2 separate regions of the Homo sapiens genome follow, and region 2 is linked to region 1. Evidence: promoter capture Hi-C in 16 types of primary human blood cells and fetal thymus (Javierre and others, 2016). All regions are on one chromosome and are shown on one strand. The core of a region is centred on a gene start or on the middle of the fragment in contact, and the rest is flanking DNA. Distances in the headings are between cores, read along the strand shown. Region 1 holds the start of RAB32 (RAB32, member RAS oncogene family). Region 2 holds the start of GRM1 (glutamate metabotropic receptor 1).

Region 1 (7,276 bases), core at 1,904-4,403:
CAGCACAATTGACAATAGTCAAAGTGTGGAAGCAATCTCAATATCTACGGAAGGATAAATGGATTTAAAAAAAAGTGGTATGTATTACTAGATACATAAGAACTTTTAAGTTCGAGAAGCAAATTCTGATCCAAACCACTGTGCTCCTAGACACTTAGCAGCAACATCTCCTGGGAACTTGTTAGAAATGCAAATTATTTGCCTCACCCTAGATCTGAATCAGAACCCCTCTGTTTTAACAAACCCAGAACTCTCAAGTTTGAAAACCACTCATCTAAACTCTTATCCTGTCTTTGAATCGTTGATCCACAACTTTATCCTGCCTTTAGCAGTGACCTTTTCTAATTTTAAGCACCACCACAATTCTACCTCTAAAGTCAGTGGAAATTCAGCAGGGCTAGAGAAGGACGAATAAAAAAAAACATCTATGGTATTACATACGTACGGAACAAAATGCTGCACTTTGTCCAAAAATTGGAGGATTTCCTTTTTTTCCCAAACTGTACATGGGTTTGGAAGGGCTCTCTAATTGGGTGAACATAAAAGCCATGTACTGGTTGGCTGTACTTCCACATCTGTGGTTTTTCAATAGCTATTCTAGAAAAAGGTTTTACTCCCACCTTGACTTCTAAATTTTAAAACGCCTCCATCTCTGAAAAACACTTTTCAATAATTGTCAATTAGAGTGAGGATAGTAGGGTAAGCAGCTGCTTTAGTTTATTTAAGGAAGCTGCCAGATGATGTCAGCTCCAGGTGTTTCTAAATATTAAGGTGATGGGGTGCATCCCTCAACTTTATAGATAGAGAAAGCAAGGGGCTGTCCCCCATGTTTCTTCTTTAAAATAAAAACCCACAAGTCTACTACTTTCCAATCAATTTCCTATGATTTATCTTAGAGCATTTACATCTAATCCAAACACTACCAGATGAAGGTTGAAAAAGGATTGTTAGGGAAGTAAAGTAAGATGGCTTCAGAGTCCCTGTGTCTTCTTTCTCAAACTCCTTCCATAATTTAAATGCTAAAGCATGATAAGGTTTTTAATAGACTATTTTGTTGTGTGTGTGTGTATATATATATATATCTATATCTAAGGTATACGGCATGATGCTTTGATATACATAGTGAAATAGTTACTAGAGTTAAGCAAATTAACAAATTAACATGTCCATCATCTCACATAGTTACACAATTTTTTCTTTTCATTTTTTCTTTTCTTTTTTTTTTTTTTTTTTTTTGAGATGGTCTCACTCTGTCGCCCAGGTGGAATACAGTGGTGCGATTAAGCTCACTGAAGCCTGGACCTCCCAGGCTCAGGTAGTCGTCCCACCTCAGTCTTCTGGGTAGCTGGGACTACAGGTGGGTGCCACCACACCTGGCTGCAATTTTTTTTTAATGGTAACAGCACTTACAGTCTACTCTCTTAGCAAATTTCCAGTTTAAAATACAATATTATTAACTATAACGCTCATGCTACATTAGATCATTAGGACTCATTCATCCTATATAACTGCAACTTTGTACACTTTGACCTGCATCATTCCGTTTCTTCCCTGCCCCTGGTAACCACCACTGTTTCCACGTATTCCGTGTGTGTGTGTGTGTGTGTGTGTGTGTTTAAGATTCCACATATAAGTGATATTGCACAGTATCTTTCTTTTTGTGTCTGGCTTATTTCGCTTAGCATAATGTCCTCCAGGTTTATCCATGTTGTTGCAAATGTCAGGATCGCCTTCTAAAGGCTGAATGATATTCCATTGTGTGTGTGTGTGCGTCTGTGTATATGCGCGCGTGCATGCCTATGTATGTATTACAATTTCTTTATCCATTCATCGTTAACAGACACTTTGGTTGTTTCCAAATCTTCGCAACTGTGAATAATGCTGCATGAACTTGAGAGCGATTTCTGAGATCCTGATTTCATTTCCTTTGAGTATACACCCAGAAGAGGGATAGCTGGGTCACTGGCTTTAGCAACGATTTTTGCAATATCACACCAAAAGCCCAGGCAACCAAAGCAAACCTAGATAAATGGGACTTCATCCAACTAAAATGCTTCTGCACCGCATAGGAAATAATCAACAAAATGAAAAAACAGCCTATAGATTGGGAGAAAATATTTGTGAGCCATATATCTGATAAGGGGTTAATATCCAAAATACATTACGTTCACAGAACTCAGCCAAAATAAATAAATAAAACACCCAGTTAACTAACGGGCAAAGGATGTGAATGGACTTTTTTTTTTTTTCCAGAGGAAGTACAAATTGCCAACAGGTATAAGAAAAGGCGCTCAAAATCACTAATGAACAGGGAAAAGCCACTAGGTATCTCCTCACACCTGCTAGGATGACTGTTATAAAAAAGATAAGCGATAATAAGTGTCGGTGATGTGCGGAGCAAAGGGAACCTTGTACACTGGTGGTGGGAATGCGGACTGGAACAGCCATTATGGAAAACCCTACGGAGGTTCACTCAAAAAGTTAAAAACAGAACTACCAGCCCAGTGTTATCCGTCCTTCGTTAAGTTCAAAGTCACGGTGCCACTTCCTTTCCCATCTAAAGGGGACTGCTCGCGACCCAAGCCAAGGCCCGCAAGTGTGGCTCTCCCTGCGGGGAGAGTAGGGCAGGAGGTGGATTTCCAGGCCAGAGGCTTCCAGGCTGGGCCCGGACCCCACGCCGACCCCGGCCCCGGGGGGGGCTCAGCGACCTCGGCGCCTCCTCAGGCCCCCAGTGAACCTCCGGGGCCCATAAAGGCTCCAGGCCGGCTCCCCGGAGGCCCACCAGCGGGCGTCTGGGCCTCCCTCCGCGCCGCGACCGCCAGGAGGCGCCGCCCGGGAGAGGAAGTCCAGCTGGGCCCGGCCGGGCTTCGGAGGCGCCGCCCGGGAGAGGAAGTCCAGTTGGGCCCGGCCGGGCTTCAGAGGCGCAGGGCGGGAGCCGCCTCGCGCAGGGTCCTCCCCAAGCCGGCGCCAGGCCCTGCCCTCGTCCGGCCCTGCCCTCGTCTGGCCCCGCCCGGGCCGCGAGCACTGGCGGGTTCTGGGTCCTGTGACCGGTCAGGCGGCGTCAGCGGGCGCGGCGGAGGGCTGGCCGGCCTCGGGGGAGTTTCCGCGGCCGCCGGGGGCGCGGCGGCAGAGCGCGAGGCCGGGCAGGGGGCCAGACTCGGAGTCGAGGCGCGCCCGACAGCCGCAGCGCTCATGGCGGGCGGAGGAGCCGGGGACCCCGGCCTGGGGGCGGCCGCCGCCCCAGCGCCCGAGACCCGCGAGCACCTCTTCAAGGTGCTGGTGATCGGCGAGCTTGGCGTGGGCAAGACCAGCATCATCAAGCGCTACGTCCACCAGCTCTTCTCCCAGCACTACCGGGCCACCATCGGGGTGGACTTCGCCCTCAAGGTCCTCAACTGGGACAGCAGGACTCTGGTGCGCCTGCAGCTGTGGGACATCGCGGGTAAGCGCGGCCGCGAGTTTCCCACTCCAGAGCCCCGCCGGGCCGCCTGGCTCCTCTCTGCTTCTTTTCTTTTTCTTTTCTGCCTGAACTCGTCTGCCTGGGTACCTTTAGGAGAAGAGAGAGGCCCAATCCAAGGGCGAGATGCGATGGACGCGGTCGGCTGGACTCGGTGGGGCCCAGAGGATGGGATGGGCAGTAGGAGTTGGAGCAGGTCCTGCACGCCAGAGCTCGCTCTCCTGAAGGGAGGCGAGGAGGCCAGGGGGCCTTTTCCAGAAGTTTGAACTCTGAATAATGCAAGTATATCATACATACACCAGGACTAGTTGAGAAGGCTGCTTTGGAGCGGGCCGGCGCCTCTCAGCCTCAACTCAAGTTCAGAGGGATTGGGTGACTTAACCCGAAGCTGCACTCCTAGTTAGTGACACCACCAAGACCAAAAGCCAGGTTCCTTTCCAGATCATTTTCCACCACCCGCCTTGGCTCTGAGACTGGCCTTTGTGAGGGAAACTCCATTCCTCAAATACTTTGCTCTCATCGGAAGCCGAGGACAGACACTCCGTGAAGATTTGGGAAAGCTTTTCTGAAACCTTACACTCACCCCTTCCTCTCTTGCTAAACCAACACCTAGTCCCATCCCTGGTGCCCTCGCCCCCCCCCGCCCCCCCCCCACTCCTCAATACAGTGTTTCTCTGCCATTTGCTTTCATTTGTTCTGTTTGAGGGGGTACATTTCCCTCTGCTCTGATTTATGAACACTTGAACTTTGCCTGGTGTGGTGGTTGGGAGTGGGCGTTTTAAAGATGATGTTAACTATTGGAAAGTTCATAGAAATGGTACCAAGCCAAGTGCCAGTGGCTCACGCCTGTAATCCCAGCACTTTGGAAGGCCTAGACTGGAGGATCGCATGAGCACAGGAGTTCGAGACCAGCCTGGGCTGTTAGTGAGACCCTGTCTCTACAAAATACATACATACATATATACATACATACATACAAAAAATTAGACAAGTGTGGTCGTGCGTGCCTGTAGTCCCAGCTACTCAGGAGCCTGAGGCAGGAGGATCACTTGACCCTAGGAGAGGTCAAGGCTTCAGTGAGCTGTGTTCTCACTGCTGTACTCCAGCCTGGTCAACAGAGTGAGACCCTATCTCAGAAAAAAAAAAAAAAAGTACGAAAATTACTCTGTTCAATCATTACAGGTGTTAAGAAGCACAGTCTGCAGTACAGCATTAGAATGGGAGCTGGTTTAGGGTTAGAGGACACCTGAGGCCACCCTTCATTCTACAGTCCCTACACTGAAGCCCATGGAGGGTATAGCTACCTGGCTGGTAGCAGAGTGGTTGGGGGGATCACAGGTCTACTGTCTGTCTGCCAGGTAGTGCTCTTGTCATTTATAGCTTGTTACATAAGAAAGAGTAGTAAATAATTGTAACCTATAACTCATTCATTTAAGAGCACATTTCTGTCCCTCAGACAGGAGAATAACTGTATGCAACTCAGTTGCTCAGAAAAAAGGAGTAATCAGCCAGGGACTCAGCTTTTTGTTGTTGTTTTTTGTTACCAAAAACCAAAAGTTCGTTTGAAAAGTCATCTTTGAAGCCAGAAGTTTTTTCGAAACACTTCCTGCCGTTGCACAGAACCCTAATGAGCAGTATTTCTGCTTCTTGACAAAGTCATGGATTCTAAAGGTTGCCTTACCATGTGACGGTCATTCTCCAGGAATCTGCAGCATAGCTGAGGTTTTTCACAAAGATGGTTTTAAAACCTTGCTTACAAGGGTGATTGACCTTGCCTTACTCTTTATGTAAATTATGGCATTTTGTTATTAAACTACGATTGGGTCCCACTGCTGGTAAATCAGTATGAGTAACTAGATTTTTAAGTGTTTATAGTTAGAAACTTGAGAAAGTAAAAGCAGGAGTAAGATACAAATTTTCTTTCTGGTATCACCTCTTCTTTTTTTATTAATCACAGACCTCGAATGACAGGAAGGGGTCATATCTAGTTTTTTATCAGACTCTGATAAACATCTGCCTAGATGGGATATCCTTGTACTTTTCACTAAATCCAAAGCTTGAGTTTTGCCAGGAAGGAAAACAAAAGTTTAAGATCTCCAAAAGGGATTTCTGGATGTTAGATATTGTTTCAACAGGTATTGTTGTCCCATACAGCAAGTACAGACCAGCAATTTACAAAATTAGAGGTAAATTTATAGAAATTATTAGGCTCACATTATAAGTAAGATTTTCAGAGATAGAATTTTAATATCTCTGAATATGAGGGAGAAAAATAGCTTAGTGAGAGACCAAAAACAAAAAAAAAACAAAAAAAACTGTTTTAGAGACCAAAAAAAGCAAAACAAAACAAAAAATCCTTAGCCTAAAGTTTGGAGAGCTACATTACTAACTGTTTGATTTGAATATTTGAGCTACTAGTGAATCTCAGCTCATACCATTTGAATTAAGTAATGATGATGTAATGAAGGCAAACTGATGGCTGCTCCACAAACTTCCCCCAGGGCTAAGCATACTTGCCTTATGTAGTAACAAAGTTGGATCATATTTAATTCTCAAATAATAGAAATATTCTTTGATTGCACAATAGTAGATAGAGCCAGCTACTTGCCATAACTAAGTTAAGGTGTGGTGTTTTTACTAGTTAGGTTTTTTTTTTTTTTTTTTTTTTGGTTGCTTCAGTGAGAGGGCGAGGTAGTGAAGAAATTATGACGAATCTCTATGCTTGAAAGCTGTGGCAAGTATGATAGGCTAGAATTATCAAATGTTTTCTACACATGTAGCTAAGCAGATTCAGCTGAACTCTTCAGGTTAAGAACCACTGTGATCCTCAGATACACAAATCTGTTCTTACGGCATTGAAGGAATCTGGCTTTAAAATACAGATGCAGTTTAGTGCAGTTTTTGTGTTAGACAATTGCCATCTCTTAACTCACACGTACTTTAGGACTGCTGCTCAAAACATAACTGAAATATACTAAAATCTTGAAGTCTTTGATAACACTTTACAGAGATCTTAATAAATGCATACTCAAGATATAGCAAGAGATGTCTCTGATCTTCCTTTTAATGCTCAGTGTAGGTAAAGTAGTATTTGGTTTACTATTATATGCTTATTGCTTATTAGTCACTATAGCATTTTTCAGGCAAATTGAAAGACTGGTCTAGGTTAAATCTTAAAAAAACAAGTTTGTCCATTTAGGTCTAGTATACTTTAGCCTTCATGTATTGACTGAGTGATTTGCTTTTTAGGATCAACATTTTTTAATAAAAATCTGAATGAGTAACTCTCCTTTGGGCCAAAGGACAAATTGGGAACAGTCTGCTCTGAAGTTCATATAAATAATATTTACCCAAGCATAAAATGTGTGCTTGGAAGATATAAACTATATAATTTATGCCTAAACTTATTTTACATTGTTTTGATTCCCATCCAAAATAGAATGTGGATCCTGATTGCCTTGCTGCATCTTATACTTTGTCGATTAGTATACCTAGTAATATCCCTTTGTCTTTTTTTTCACAACTCTCCTATCATCTTTCATGAGCACGAGTAAAAGGAAATACTTGAAATTTACAGATGATTCACAAAAAAAAAAAAAAAAAAGCAACAGTCACTAAAGTTTAACAACTCTTTGTTAACTTCTAGGTTTCTAACTGTTCTTTTACTCATTTGTCACCCCACTCTCTTTTCTAAATTAAAGATATAGTCCAAAGGAATAGTTTATTACCATGTAATTATCTTGAAATCTTACTTTTTCAATTTCCTAATTTAAGACTGTCATATCTTGTTGCTTAGTCTTTTCATATTCAATAATTAAA
Region 2 (7,276 bases), core at 3,244-5,743, 510 kb before region 1:
GGACCAACGTAAGCTGATCTCTCTGCTCTGCAGATGACACAAATAGAAAGCTTTGAACAAGAGTAGAAAGACACACTGTCACTTGTCTTTTCCCCTGAAAAAGCCGGGCCACATTCTGCTCAGCCAACATGTTCCCAGAGGAATGTGATTTAACTTCCGCTTTTCACACAGTCAGAAGCAACACCATAGACCTGTAGGGAAGGTGATGGCCGCCTGGGAGGAATTTGGATAAGTATTTGTCACTCCAGTATTTTCATGTGACCTGACTCTCATTCTCAATTTAGTTACATCTTGACCTGAAAATGCAGCCACAATATGTCTCTCTTCATTTGGCATACCTTAATTCATAATGGGCATGCCTGTCCTTTCCCTTCTCCCACCCTATGCAGCCTCTTCCTGATTTCCCTTGCAATCTACTAATAGAGCCTTTCTTTAGATGTCTGTACATGTGTTTACACTCTGTTTCCCTCTGTAGGGACTTTACTCGCAGAAAGAGAAAATATATTTGAGTCCCTGAGATATATATACAAAGATATCTACCCCAAAGCAGCCTAGGCAGTTCTCCACTTCTTTGGCCAGATTGTCTGACTATTCACGTATCTGGCAGCTTCTATACGACCCCTCATATAGTAAAGGAATTAATATTCCCCACTTCCTCCTAGTTTGTCTCCCCTCCTCCCTCTATCAAACGACTGATTTTTATACATGAGATAATAGACAAGCCTTGGGTGACCTGTTTTTTTTTTTCTTCCCTCCCCCTCTTTTTCCCTTGCGGTAAAATAGTGCTGAAGAAAGAGGGCACTAGTGTACAGCCCAGATCGCATCCTTGCACCGTCTGGATTAGAGCTGAGGCGTCTGCAAGCCGAGCGTGGCCACGGTCCTCTGGCCCCGGGACCATAGCGCTGTCTACCCCGACTCAGGTACTCAGGTATGTCTCAAGTCCATGTCCTCCAAACAGACTCAGGTGAGCGGACACTTCCTCCGGTGAAACCCACCCACAACGGCAGACAAAGTCCCAGTCTATCAGATTTTCCTCCGGGTCCCAGGCGCATTCTCGCTTATGTATTTCTTTTCGTCCTGTATCCTCAGGAAGAGTCGGGACCAATGGGTGCCTGGGTTTTCTTTCTCCTTTTTCTGCCTCACCTCCTGTGCTCTCCTCGCCCGCTCCCATAGCCCCCTTTTCGTCGACTCTCACCTTGAGAAAAGGAGCAGGGGAGGAACGGGAGAGGGAGCCAACTTCAGCCCCGCAGGCGGCTGAGATTTGGCGCCTCTGTCCCCAAGCGGGTGGGTTTGGATATATACCTGCACAAGCGGTGCAAGGTGATGAGAATGAGGGCGGAGGGGCGGTGGGGACTCGAGTGGAAGGGAGTGTGTGTGTGTGTGTGTGTGTGTGTGTGTGTGTGTGTGTGTGTGTATGGGTAAAGAACTCAGAGGAGGGAGGTTGAAAGAGCAAAGCGGGTCAGGGAATTGCAACTCACTGGTCAAAGCGTCCCTTGCAGGCCCTGCCAGGGAATGTCTGGCTGGACCGAGCACTGTCCAGGGTCCTGAAGGCGGCAGGGCTCAGGCTGCCGCGGCGAGAGCAACCCGGAAGCTCCCCTCCGTTCCCTTTCTAGCAACTATGCAAACCCCAAAGCAAGCGCAGGACCCCCCCTAACCCGTCCACCCACCGCGGGAAACAAGTTACCTTATCTGCACCCCTTCTTCTTGAACATACACAGCAAGCCTGACTTCTTACGGGGGAAACATACCAAACTCCTCCATACGGAGACTTTACCAGGCGTTGCCTTAGTAACTAATGTGGATTTTCTTCAAGCTGGCAAATTTATATTTACAGCTGATTTTATGTCAGGGCTTCTTCAACCCCTCAAAATTAAAGTAAAAGGTGCATCCTTTGTTTACGTTTATTTTAAAGTCGCGCTTCCACCTTTACAATGAGTTTCCAAATTTTCTTCTGAAAAAAAGTTGATCTTTTCCAATCCGGAAAGTTCTCTTGGGTTGAAGGACCTAGCTCCTCCCCTCCTCTCTGCTCACCTTCCCCACCGCCCTCCAAGTTAGAAAGCATGATAGGTTTTAGGGGACCAGGAAACGACTTAAGGTTGGAGGAGCGGGCGAGTTGGCGGGGCTCTGCGCCGCCTGGACCCGTGAGGACAGAGGGGGCAGGACACCCCGCCTTCCTCAGTGACCACAGCTGCGCTCCAAGCTGTTCCTGCAGCCGATATCAGGATGTGCCGAAATGAAACGGACAAGGCAACTGTTAACATTATAGACCCCAGAGTTTTAACACAGGTCCTCTGATGACAAGGTTGTGATTTTTCTCTGTCTTTTGTCAGCAGCATCTAGCTCACCGCTGCCAACACGACTTCCACTGTACTCTTGATCAATTTACCTTGATGCACTACCGGTGAAGAACGGGGACTCGAATTCCCTTACAAACGCCTCCAGCTTGTAGAGGCGGTCGTGGAGGACCCAGAGGAGGAGACGAAGGGGAAGGAGGCGGTGGTGGAGGAGGCAAAGGCCTTGGACGACCATTGTTGGCGAGGGGCACCACTCCGGGAGAGGCGGCGCTGGGCGTCTTGGGGGTGCGCGCCGGGAGCCTGCAGCGGGACCAGCGTGGGAACGCGGCTGGCAGGCTGTGGACCTCGTCCTCACCACCATGGTCGGGCTCCTTTTGTTTTTTTTCCCAGCGATCTTTTTGGAGGTGTCCCTTCTCCCCAGAAGCCCCGGCAGGAAAGTGTTGCTGGCAGGAGCGTCGTCTCAGCGCTCGGTGGCCAGAATGGACGGAGATGTCATCATTGGAGCCCTCTTCTCAGTCCATCACCAGCCTCCGGCCGAGAAAGTGCCCGAGAGGAAGTGTGGGGAGATCAGGGAGCAGTATGGCATCCAGAGGGTGGAGGCCATGTTCCACACGTTGGATAAGATCAACGCGGACCCGGTCCTCCTGCCCAACATCACCCTGGGCAGTGAGATCCGGGACTCCTGCTGGCACTCTTCCGTGGCTCTGGAACAGAGCATTGAGTTCATTAGGGACTCTCTGATTTCCATTCGAGATGAGAAGGATGGGATCAACCGGTGTCTGCCTGACGGCCAGTCCCTCCCCCCAGGCAGGACTAAGAAGCCCATTGCGGGAGTGATCGGTCCCGGCTCCAGCTCTGTAGCCATTCAAGTGCAGAACCTGCTCCAGCTCTTCGACATCCCCCAGATCGCTTATTCAGCCACAAGCATCGACCTGAGTGACAAAACTTTGTACAAATACTTCCTGAGGGTTGTCCCTTCTGACACTTTGCAGGCAAGGGCCATGCTTGACATAGTCAAACGTTACAATTGGACCTATGTCTCTGCAGTCCACACGGAAGGTAGGCATTATATTTGGGAAAGAAGGGTACTGAGAAAGTCAGGGCAATGCATGATGTGCTCCTGGGATCATAGTATTGTTCCTGTTTATTTCTAGCACTGTGGGGAACGGAGTTTACCCTTCTCAGTACTGCCCACCCAGGCATTGCCTTTTATCCTCATTTCCTTACAATTATAGTGTAGGAAAATTGTACCCCATAGAATATCTGAGGATAATAGGAGCTGAAAGGGTATCAAACTTTCCATGCAAAGTGTCCAGCAGTAGATTTGACTTGAATACTTGTTTGCCCTCATATTTTGAGTTTGCGTTTGGAAGGCTTATTTGTCCAAGGTGTTATATTGCCCTTCAGTGACTGGCTATGACTTTCCAGGTGTAATGAGTTAATTCAGTGTGAGTGATTGGCAAAAAGAAGTTACTATTCCACAAATAGGACTTCAAAGCTTTATCTTTCTTTAACAGTTGAAGATTTTCTTTGTCCTCTTGTACCCCTTCTTACATATCCAAAACTTTCCTGTGAATGTAGGATTAATGCAGTCATCTCCCTCAGTATATCAGAAACTTATATTTTTACTTCTGGAGTACCTTAGTTACAAAGAAAAAGTAAGTAATTTAAATAATGTATTTTCTTCTTACTTTATAGGCTAAAATCATCCAGATTCCCTCACTCCCCCAAGAATTATCTTGTTTTATGAGAAATAACACTGGTGACCACTTGGATTTGAGTTTTGGTTTCTAGTCTTTTTTCTTCTAACACAATGAACTTACATATTAGAATTAAAGTTAGATCAGTTATAAAATACTAATGAATGGATAGCAGATATTAGGTTTATAATGTCTTTCTAAAATGCAATAGATTAACCTAAGGTTAAAAGCTTTGATTTTTCCAGAGACTTATGGATGTGAATTTTCAAAAATTTTTTATATAAAGATTTTCTAGACTCTCTTCACCTTAGGTTATATACATTTTTTAATAAAAGGGGATTTCTGAGCTCAGCTACTCTTAAGTCCCCCAGTAGGTTTATGAAAAAGCTGAAGCCCTGGTTATAAATTAACATCTAGGACAATTCACATGTATAAGCTGGCAGAAGAAGACAATCTTGCTGGTATTTCTGTATTCATATTTCTTCAACTCAAATGACTTTCAAGAAGCCATAGGCATGGCTCCATGTTTTTTTAATATTTCCATAATATTCAGTTACTGGCGTGAGGTCTGATTATAGAAATTGACAGCATCCATAGTGAAGTGATTATATGGTTATCATTATTGAAAACATATACTTTATAAAGGGAACAGAATTTTCAGAACAAACATAAATGATATAGGATTACACATTATAATTTCAGATTTTGCTTTTGGAAAAAACTATCTGCTGTGATATTATAACTTTATAATAACTGACTTATGCTTCTGAAGCTTGATTTTTAATCATGAACTGCGTATCTCTTTTTGAACAAAAATTCATTACTTTTTTAAGACTCAAAGTATTAATTCCTTATATTTTAATATTTAACTTTACTACATGTTAATGTTTAGCATAGTTTCTTTAGTGCTTGCTTAAATGAAACATCCTGAAAGAGCAAGTTAAAATGTGTTAAATATCATCATTGGATAGATCCAAAGATGATGGCAAAGAGAATGGCAAAATCTAGATTGAATGTGATTTATTTAAATATTTAATAATATTTCCCCCATTGAGCTAGATAATTGATTATTAATATTGGAAGTATAAATTCTTTCTTCAGGAAGAAGTAATGCTTCATTATTTTTAAACAGTGGTTTTATTTTCCATATTTCATTATAAGATTGTTTTATTTGGTGAGAGGTGGCTAATAGTGGGTTGCTTTCTGAGGAGTAGAATTATGTTTTTGGAAAATGAATTGAACATGTTTTCACTAATTTTGCTGCGAAAGGACTAATATTATAATTTTGCCCATGTGTTAGTTTGGATTACTATGTTTCCTTTCTGCCTTCTGATTGGTGTTGTATGGCAAAGACAATGTCTCCGTACTATTATAGTAATTGATTCCAGACTACATTGTGTTCACAGAACAGCATCATAGAAATATGTGGGGTTTATTTTATTACCAAGCAGTTACACCATTCACCTTGCCATTCATATATAATACCTTGTTTCTTCTCAAAGGGAATTAGTTACTTCTCTTATTAAACGTAACATCTGTAAAAACTAAATTGCATTTCTTTCCTTCTATCTGGAAAGGAATTTTGTGTAAGGTCCCACTGAAGATTCATTTTTCCTGAGGTTTTGCCCTCCTGCTTTTCAGGGCCCCATAGTGTACTGGCCTACAGGCACTTCCTTGGATCATTTAGTAATTTTACTGCTTTCAGACTGATGGGGTCGCTTATTGGTGACAGTTCCCTGTCAAATAGCAGAGAAGACCACATATCAGGGTTGTCTCTGTCGTCTGAGCACTATTCAGCAAGGAAGCCAGTTTGTCTGGATATTGGCAACTTAGGGCTTAGAAATTCTGGGGCCTCTCGTGACCTTCATCTCTCCTTTCCAAATCAGCCATTCCCTAGTCAATTCATTATCATCGTTTCTTGTATTAGAAGTTAACCAAGAATAGTTAATACCAAAAGCACTAAGTGACTGGACTAGTGTACCTTCATTTCTGTAGTTAATTGTGAGATTATCTTGAAATCATATTGTTTTTGAATGGTACAGTTGTTTTTATATTACTTTTTTTTATATTGAAGCTAAACTTGCAGATATTTTCTGTTTTGTTTTGTGTTTTAACCAGTTACAATTTAGTTTTTATATTCTCTTACATTCTTTTCAATCTTATATCATATTATTTGTACCACACTTGATACATGACAATTATCAATTTACATAAAATGAAAGAAAATCAGTACACATAAAGTTACCTGCAATGCAATAGACTCTCCAGAAATTGTTCATGATTAGCTCTGGAGGCAAATGTTAAGATGAGCCTGTCAAGGGGGAGGCAGGATATTGGAGTAATGGAGCCTTATCCACAAATAAAGTTTGAATGCACTTTGGAGCAAGCTGCCTACCTGGAATGTGAGTCTTTAAATATGCTAAGTATATAGTAGAGAAATAGCCTACCACTGATAAGAATATCTCAGCCAAGGACACTATATTTTGTTCTTCTGATAAAATACAGATTCCCCGTCAAAAAAACAAATTTATTATTTCAAATGATTTTTGAAAACAGTACTTAAAAATAACTGTAGTTAATAAAATTCAAAGCATTGAACAAGTCCAATAAAAATGTTCTTTGAGTATGTAGCTACAAGAATTTTTTTTGAGTGGATAAATTTTCATTCATTACTTTTATGTATTTATTTATTTATCTTAAGCCTTTCTTCTAGTATTTTGTCTCAGTTACTTAGATAAGTATTGATATAATAATGAATTTAGTGATGCTGCTTCCCTTATTAAAATATCCACTTTAAGGTAAACTTTTCTTTCCAGTTAGATTTTGATCTTGGTGTGACATTTTTTTGACATTTGCTTACATTTTATATAAAATTGGCCTTTTTGAGCTTCTTTCCAAAATCTGATTTTTTCCTTTTTAAGTACTTTTTTATTTGATATAAAACAATTAAAAAGTCTAATGACATCAGAAAAAAGTCCTCCTAAGTCATAAATACATACTTTGATTAATGCAATTACCTGTAATAATTTTATATCTACTAAATATCATATTTCCTATCTATGTACCAGTAACTTTCTATATATCTTTCTTGTCTTGATTGCAACCTACTTCAAAGGAAATTATCTTAATACATTGCTCATTTTATCATATAGTAAGAAATAGGAGTGTTTTGAAAGGTTATTCAGGCCAACTAATAAAAGATGCTTAGAACATCACATTACGTGCTTGCCCACGCTCAAAGCTTTCTAATTGTGATTAGGGTTTCTAATTAGAGTAGGAGTA

Evidence for each region. Contacts are between HindIII fragments. The CHiCAGO score rates a contact against its expected background, and 5 or more counts as called.
Region 2: a contact is called between a fragment that was not itself captured here and the fragment with the promoter of RAB32 in region 1, in 1 of 17 cell types (endothelial precursors). The highest score is 9.7, in endothelial precursors.

Annotation. Positions count from the first base shown.
Region 1 is chr6:146,540,680-146,547,955 of GRCh38, forward strand. RAB32 (RAB32, member RAS oncogene family) reads left to right here and starts at 3,154. Exons shown (of 3, transcript NM_006834.5): 1 at 3,154-3,442. The coding sequence starts at 3,193. RefSeq lists a silencer at 2,728-3,107. The HindIII fragment of the contact is 5,944 bases long and covers 1-4,015 here.
Region 2 is chr6:146,026,865-146,034,140 of GRCh38, forward strand. GRM1 (glutamate metabotropic receptor 1) reads left to right here and starts at 2,198. Exons shown (of 8, transcript NM_001278064.2): 1 at 2,198-3,353. The coding sequence starts at 2,654. RefSeq lists enhancers at 2,016-2,516, 2,517-3,017. The HindIII fragment of the contact is 542 bases long and covers 4,223-4,764 here.